Regions from separate parts of the Homo sapiens genome. Here region 1 is linked to region 2. The links are contacts of gene promoters, found by promoter capture Hi-C in blood cells and fetal thymus (Javierre and others, 2016). All regions are on one chromosome and are shown on one strand. The core of a region is centred on a gene start or on the middle of the fragment in contact, and the rest is flanking DNA. Distances in the headings are between cores, read along the strand shown.

Region 1 (4,006 bases), core at 1,120-3,619, 240 kb after region 2:
GGCACTGGGATCTCTGATGGGAAAGTGGGGGTCTATGACAGTGGCGCTGCCACTTTCCAAGTATTGGTGTCCACATTGTCACCACTTGATAAACCTTGGTGTTGATGCGTTCTAGCCCCTGCATTCACACCAAGGTACAGCTTGGCTGTACACCATGACCCTGTCCTGCTAGGCCACTTGTTTCTAGCTATCTTGGGTCTGGAAATCTCCATTTTGTGAGTCACTAAAACTATTAATGGACAAAGAGATTTTAAAGCTCACAATACAATCTTTCAGAAGGTAAAAAGTCATCGTGCTGAGAGCACTTGTGTTAGCTCTTGCATAAAAAAATAAACATTTAAAATTCATCCCAAGAAGTTATGCATTACCAAAATATTTTGTGTTTTTGTTGTTGTTTGAGACAGAGTCTCACTCTGTCACCCACGCTGGAGTGCAGTGGCACGATCTCCAATCACTGCAGCCTCTGCCTCCTGGTCTCAAGCGATCCACCTCAGCCTCCCAAGTAGCTGGGACTACAGGTGTATGCCACCATACATGGCTAATTTTTTGTGTATTTTTTGTAGAGATGGGGGTTTCACCATGTTGGCCAGGCTGGTCTCGAACTCCTGGGCTCAAATGATACTCCTGCCTTGGCCTCCCAAAGTGCTGGGATTATAGTTGTGAGCCACCACGCCTGGCCAATATGGTGGTTTTTAATTAAAGTGAAAATCACATAACATAAAATTAGTCATCTGAAAGTGTACAGTGTAGTGACATTTAGTGCATTTACTAATGCACGTTGTGCCACCATCACCACTATGTACTTTCAGAATATTTCATCATGCCGTACAGAAACCCCGTGTCCATTACGTGGCCACTCCCCATCCCCTAATCCCTCAGCCCCTGGCACCCGCTAATCTGCTGTCTGTGTCTATGAATTCCTCTATTCTGGATATTTCACATAAAGTGGCTCATCTGATATGTGACTTTTCATGTGTGGCTTCTTTCACTGAGCAAAATGCTTTTGAGGATCTATCTGAATTTCAGCATGTATCGGTACTTCATTCCTTTTTACCGAAACACATTGAAATTAGTGACATTTTTATACATTTACAGGATAGTTTTTGTTTGTTTGTTTGTTTGTTTGTTTGTTTTGAGACAGGATCTTGCTCTGTGACCCAGGCTGCAGTAGTGGCACGATCACAACTCACTGCAGTCTCGACCTCCTGGGCTCCAGCGATCCTCCTGCCTCAGCCTCTCGAGGTACCTGGGACTACAGCCACACACCACCATGCCCAGCTAATTTTTGTATTTTTTCTGTAGAGACAGGGTCTCGCTATATAGCCCAGGCTGGTCTCCAACTCCTAGCTTCAAGCGACTCTCCTGCCTTGGCCTCCCAAAGCACTGGGATTACAGGTGTGAACCACTGCTCCCAGGCTGCAGGGTAGATTTTTTAATTCCATTGAGTCACTTTTCGTAACTACAAGCCTCATTCTTCTCGGCATCAGCCTTTATTCGTGTGCACCATACAGTGGGTTACCCAAGCCAGGCAAAGGGGCAAACCTGGATGGTCCCAAGCAGCCAGGTACCAAACACGGTGGTCCGAAGACCCTTGTCAGTGTTGTTATTAATTTGAGGACTGATCTTGGAGAAGTCCAGTACCAAAGAGAGTTGCCAGGAGACACGGGTCAGTTGCTTAAGAGAGGAGCACAGCTGCCCTAGAACAAGAAAGGCCCATGGCCTTGACAGTGTAACCAGAGTCCCAATATTTGATAACAACACACAGGAGAAGGTAACATGGTAAGCAGTGGGAATTTTAGCTCCTCCACAAAGGAAGAGCCTTTGCTCTTTGTTCTGTTCGATTGCTTGTTCTCTTATAATTGGCTGCAGTTATGAAATAACCATGCCAAGGGGCAGCATAAAAGCACCTCTGTTAACAGATTTGCAGTGCTGTGAGCTCCTAGTAGGGTGAGAAAAAAAACCTCTGGCTCTAGATAGGATACTTGAGGTTGAAAATATATTGATTACTTAAAGACCCTTTACTCCCTTGCGCCCAGGCCTCTGCACTCCATCATACAGAAACTTTAAAAAACATTCATTGATGTAATACACCTCTATGTATGTTTATGTAAACATACACTTATATGCAGTCACAGTAAAAGATGTTCACGGCCAGGCATGGTGGCTCATGCCTATAATCCCAGCACTTTGGGAGGCTGAGGCAGACAGATCACCTGAGGTCAGAAGTTTGAGGCCAGCCTGGTCAACATGGTGAAACCCCATCTCTACTAAAAATACAGAAATTAGCCAGGCATGGTGGTGTGTGCCTGTAATCCCAGCTACTTGGGAGCCTGAGGCAGGAGAACTGCTTGAACCTGAGAGACAGAGGTTGCAGGGAGCCGAGATCACGCCGCTGCACTCCAGCCTGGGCAACAGAGTGAGACTCCATCTCACACACACACACACACACACACACACACACACAGATGTTCAGGTAGTGGTATTATTTACTGCTTTAAAAGTTTAGGTTTTATAGTAAAAATTTAAAAATCAGGCATAGGTTGGGCGTGGGGGCTCATGCCTGTAATCCCAGCACTTTGGGAGGCCAAGATGGGAGGATTGCTTGGAGGCCAGGTGTTCGAGAGTAGGCTGGGCAACACAGCAAGGCCCCATCTCTACAAAAAGTAAAAATGCAAAAATTAGCAGGGTGTAGTGGCACCCGCATGTGATCCCAGCTACTTGGGAGGCTGAGGTGGGAGGATCACTTGAGCTCAGGAGTTTGAGGCCACAGTGAGCTAGGATTGCACCAGTGCACTCCAGCCTGGGTGACAGAGTGAGACTCGGTCTCTAAAAAAAAAATAAGTAAAAATTCAGGCATAGCACAAAACAATGTTTAGACTACAGTGATTTTCTGATTTATGAGTGTTGTGTGGCACCATTGTGTTTATGCATAGACTAGAATACATATATGTCAGAAATAACTGTGTGTGTTTGCATTTTGTCTTTATGAATTTTCATTCCTTTGGAGATTATCCAGGTAAATATACTTGCTAATTACCTCAATTTATTGTCTACCCCAGGTATCAAAGTCAGTAGATGAGGGAATCTTAGAAATTATACTAGGCTGCCTGGGCGTGTTGGCTCACACCTGTAATCCCAGCACTTTGGGAGGCCAGGTGAGCGGATCACGAGGTCAGGAGTTCAAGACCAGCCTGGCCAACATGGTGAAACCCTGTCTCTACTAAAAATACAAAAATTAGCTGGGTGTGGTGGCGCACGCCTGTAATCTCACCTACTCGACAGGCTGAGGCAGGAGAATCGCTTGAACCCAGGAGGCGGAGGTTACAGTTGGCCAAGATCATGCCACTGCACTCCAGCCTGGCAACAGAGCAAGACTCCATCTCAAAAAAAAAAAAAAAGAAAAAAAAAGAAAAAAAGAAATGATAGTAGCACAATATGATCACACTTCATGAATAAAATTTGACAAATATGACACTACAATTTATTCCGTTTACAAGGTGGAGTAACTTTGTAGGGCTACACAATTACTGCTATTGTTGGAAGTTTAAAAGGTTGATTTTAAAAATACAGATATTCATTATTATAACTCAGTTTAGCTCAACTCGTGTTTACATTTACAAAACCTTAGATATTTAGTGTAAGAAATGCTGACGTACGTGATCTGCAAGGTAAGTATTATGGGTTTAGAAAGGTCAACATAATAAAATTTCTCATGAGAAAATCATAATGGATACATCTCAAATCTTGCAAAAACCAAAGCACAGTGTTCCCATTGTCACTTTTACATACTTCGTACTGTGATAAAACTGGAGAGAAGACAAAGACATACAGCTATTTCTTAAATGAAGAATAAAACAATTTAATCTATTCAAGGATTTTTCTTATAAAGAAATATTGAGGAAACCTGGAGTTTTAGATTATTTTCTTGGCTTTATTTGTTTTTTCTTGATACATTGTAATCATGCATATTTATGGTGCCAATTCATATCACGTTGCACAATGACCC
Region 2 (4,110 bases), core at 894-3,393:
TGTGATGGTCCCCCTGCACCCACCCTGTGGGTACCTGGAGCCTAAGTCCAGCCCCATTGCAGTGCAGCTCCACTCCAGACCACTGGAAGCCAGGCAGGCTCCTGAGCAGCAGAGCCTCCATCTTATACAGGGAGAGTCAGGACCCTGCGATCAGGGGAGACTTGTCCAAGAGCCCTGAGTACAGCAATTAATTCATGGAACATTCCCCCACCAGTACCTGGTCCCTGGGGGTGATGACCTGGACAGCCTCAGAGAGTTTCCCGTCAAGGGTAGGGTGGGATTTGCAGTCATCAGAGGGTCTGGGAAGGGCGTGTGCAGGAAAATCTGAGGGCCTCAGGGGGTTCTTCCTGGGAAGTGCAGGCAGAGGAGACATCGGGATGCAACCAATTCTAAGTCAAGAATAAGAAAACTGAGTTGCTCCTTAAGGATGGAATGGCTTGCAAGCAGTATATGCTGTATAACTTACAATCCCAACATGATTGAGTTACGAGGAAAAAATATCAACATGGAAACATTCCTCAGTGTCTATGACAAGTAGATGATTGTTCACTGAGCTGTTAACGTTATTTTTTTATTTGTATTTTTATTTTTATATTTATTATTTTTTTCCAAGACACAGTCTAGCTCTATCACCCAGGCTGGAGTGCAGTGGCGCAATCTCAGCTCACTGCAACCTCCGCCTCCCAGGTTCACGCGATTCTCCTGTCTCAGCCTCCCGAGTAGCTGGGATTACAGGCGCCTGCCACCACGCCCAGCTAATTTTTGTATTTTTAGTAGAGACCGGGTTTCACTGTGTTGACCAGGCTGGTCTCAAACTCCTGACCTCGTGATCCACCTGCCTCAGCCTCCCAAAGTGCTGGGATCCACCACGCCCGGCCTTTTTTTTTTTTTTTTTTTTTTTTTTTGAGACGGAGTCTCTATCACCCAGGTTGGAGTGCAGTGACGTGATCTCGGCTCACTGCAACCTCTGCCGCCCGGGTTCACGCGATTTTCCCGCCTCAGCCTCCCGAGTAGCTGGGATTACAGGCGCCTGCCACTGCGCCCGGCTAGTTTTTATATTTTTAGTAGAGACGGGGTTTCACCATCTTGGCCAGGCTGTTCTTGAACTCCTGACCTCGTGATCCACCCACTTCGGCCTCCCAAAGTGCTGGGATTACAGGCATGAACCACCGCACCTGGCCTTTTTTTTTATGTTTAGTGACAGGGTTTCACTGTGTGACCCAGGCTGGAGTGTAGTGGTGAAATTATAGCTCACTGCAGCCTCAAACTCCCGGGCTTAAACGATCCTCCCATCTGTCTCCTGAGCAGCTGAGACTACCGGTGCACGTCACCACGCCCAGCTAATTTTTATATTTTTGGTAGAGATAGTGTCTTGCTGTGTTGCCCAGGTTGGTCTCAAACTCCCGGGCTCAATTAATCCACCTGCCTCAGCTTCCCACAGTGCTAGGATTATAGGCATGAGCCACCATGCCCGGCCAATGTTTTCTTTAAGATCAGAATCTTCTTAATACTAAACAAACTTAACTTTCTCGTCCCCCTGAGCGATCCTGTTTCTGCTGCCCACCCCAGGCCAGACCTGGCAGCGCCTGATCCATGGCAGTCAGGTTCATCCCAGGGCTCGGAGCCCTGCAGTCCCGTCCCGGGGCCCTGCCTGACGTAGGCGCCCAGCCAACACCTGCAACGACCTGTTGCCCCCACCCCAGGAAACAATCCCGGCTTGGGACAGACACCAGGGGCTGTGACTGTGGGTGGCTCCTTGGAGAAGGTGGCCTTGGGCCTCGGCCTTTCCACCTGGGGTGCGCTTGGCTCCCCCAGACTCAGACACGCAGGATCCTTGTGATTGGGCCTAGACACGAGCCCTGCAGTCCCTGTGGGCGCTGGAGGCGACTCCCCCACGAAGCCCTCCCTCCCCCAGGGCCTGGCGGCCCTCGCCGGCGGTGAGCTCATCTCGGGGGGCGGCGTCGCCCGGCGGCGGGTCGCTGGAGCTCACGGCGTGCCCCCGCACCCCCGCCCCCCACGCACCCGTCCCGGGCTCCTGGGCAATTTTACCAATTAAGGCTTTCTCGCCGGGCCGGGCCGGGCGCGGGGCGGGCGCGGGGCGGGGGTGCGGCCAACAAGAAGGCGGGCGGCGGCGGCCCATTCGCGTGGAGGCGCGTCGCGCGCAGCGGACGCCGACAGAATCCCCGAGGCGCCTGGCGCGGGCGCGGGCGCGAAGGCGATCCGGGCGCCACCCCGCGGTCATCGGTCACCGGTCGCTCTCAGGAACAGCAGGTGAGGTCTCCGCGGCCCGGCTTCGCGCCGTAGGGTCGCCGCGCTCCTCGTCGGCCGGGGGCGGGGTTGGAGAAGGCGGGCAGAGAGGCCGGAAAACGCAGGCGCCAGCTCGCGCCCAGGTCCGGGCCAGGTTCAGCTGGGATGCGTGAGCCGATGGAGGCTCCCCTGGCATCTGGGAGTGAGTGTCCAGAGAATAGCTTCCCTAGTTGACCCACGAGCCATGTCTGTGCCCACGAATGTGGGAGCCTGAGGCCATGGGGGGTCCCCGAGAGAGAGAGGGTGTCTGGGCACTTGCCCATGAACGGACCACTGCATGCCTGAGAGAGAAGGGCCCTGACACCAGGAACTTGTGTGGACTCAGGGCGAGTGGCCACCTGGAAGGACACTTCTCAGCCAGTGTGCCCACTGGGAGGGGGACAGCGTGTCCCTTGCTGGCTCGAGTCCACAGGGCACCAGCTGCTTTGGGCACAGGGGAGCTGGTTCTGGGGCTGCTCTACTCCATGGGGGCCATGGTGAGGATGAGACCAGGCCAGGTTCCTTGGTTGGGCCCTGGGCCCTATGCCAGGTTGGCTCTGAGTTGGATGCGCACTGCCAGCCAGGATATAACCAACAATGTCCCCAGATTCCCGTGCCACCTGGGGCCAGGCAAAATAGGTTAAAATCCACTGGCAGACCCATTTGTAAGTGCTCCGAGTGCACCGTCAAGGTGGGAGCTTGGGAATGGGCGACCTCACCTGCCGCACCTGGACTTGCCAGCACAGGTCTCTTCTCACCTTGCCAGTCTGCGGCTTCCTTCCCTCCTGCGCCCCCTGGCTACGCAGGCCTGGAAACAGCTCCTTAGGGATCCCAGCTGAACAGCTCCTGGGCTTGGGCTATACCTCCCAGTGGGAGGGTCTGGCCTGGGGTCTGAGGGCCAGGGGTGGTGTGGTGGGCGGGGTGTGCCTAACATCCAAGAATCTACTCCAAATAAGGGAAAATATGAAAGAGCTGGATTTTGGCTTCCCAGGACTGCCCGATCTGGTGGCTTTGGGATCGGGCGACATCTGGCGGTTGATACTATGTTCTAGGGACAAGAACCCTCTACACGCCCATTCCTTGTTTCCTCTAAATAGGGAAAAGCTAGGGCTGGAAGACACGGCACCCACCTCCTGACACTCTTTCTGCTGGAATTGACCACTGGTCACTCTGACTCAGTTTCCCTGAGCTCTGAAGATTAAGGAATGAACCCAGACAACCCAGCTCAATGGCCCTTAGTGGAGAGAGAGTCAATTATTGATGGAATTCCGTGCCTGGGAACTTGCTTTCCAGTGGGGCAGGGGGACCAGAAGGACAACTTCAAGCCCGTCTTGAATGGGGCCCGTGCAGGGAGGGGTCTGTATGGGTTCCCCCTTCCCAGCCCTCCCTCCCACCTCCACCCCAGCTCCCAGACGCCCAGGCGCACTTGGTGCAGGTGTGTCTCAAAGTGGTCAGGAGAGGGGACAATATACAGGGGTTGGCCTCAGTACTGGAAAATGCCATTTGCACCCCCTAACACCACTACTAGTGGGAAAAACCAGTGGGGCCACAGGCTGCCCCGAAGTGAATGTGCTGGGCGGATCACAGCCCCACCACGTGTCATGTAGACACCCAGGGCTACAGGAGAGTCAACCATATTTGGGCATGACGTGCTGGCCAACCCAGGGCCTCCATCTCTCACTGGTCTTTAGCAGATAAATTAATTATTACTAGAATTGAACAGGAGGGACAGATACCTGCCTTCCTAGAAAAAAAAAAAAAACACTCAGAGGAGGAAACATTCTGGAGAGGGGAGGTACCGAGGACTGAGAGGGAGGGGAGTGC

Evidence for each region. Contacts are between HindIII fragments. The CHiCAGO score rates a contact against its expected background, and 5 or more counts as called.
Region 1: a fragment that was not itself captured here is called in contact with the fragment with the promoter of FLNA in region 2 in 2 of 17 cell types (total B cells and naive CD4 T cells); the score reaches 5.2 in total B cells.

Annotation. Positions count from the first base shown.
Region 1 is chrX:154,129,875-154,133,880 of GRCh38, reverse strand. No RefSeq gene overlaps it. Among named protein-coding and RNA genes, the nearest start is that of OPN1LW, 12 kb to the left of the region's middle. The HindIII fragment of the contact is 8,995 bases long and covers 1-4,006 here.
Region 2 is chrX:154,372,667-154,376,776 of GRCh38, reverse strand. FLNA (filamin A) reads left to right here and starts at 2,143. Exons shown (of 48, transcript NM_001110556.2): 1 at 2,143-2,271. RefSeq lists silencers at 2,057-2,196, 2,207-2,266, 3,809-3,868 and an enhancer at 3,356-3,405. The HindIII fragment of the contact is 17,250 bases long and covers 1-4,110 here.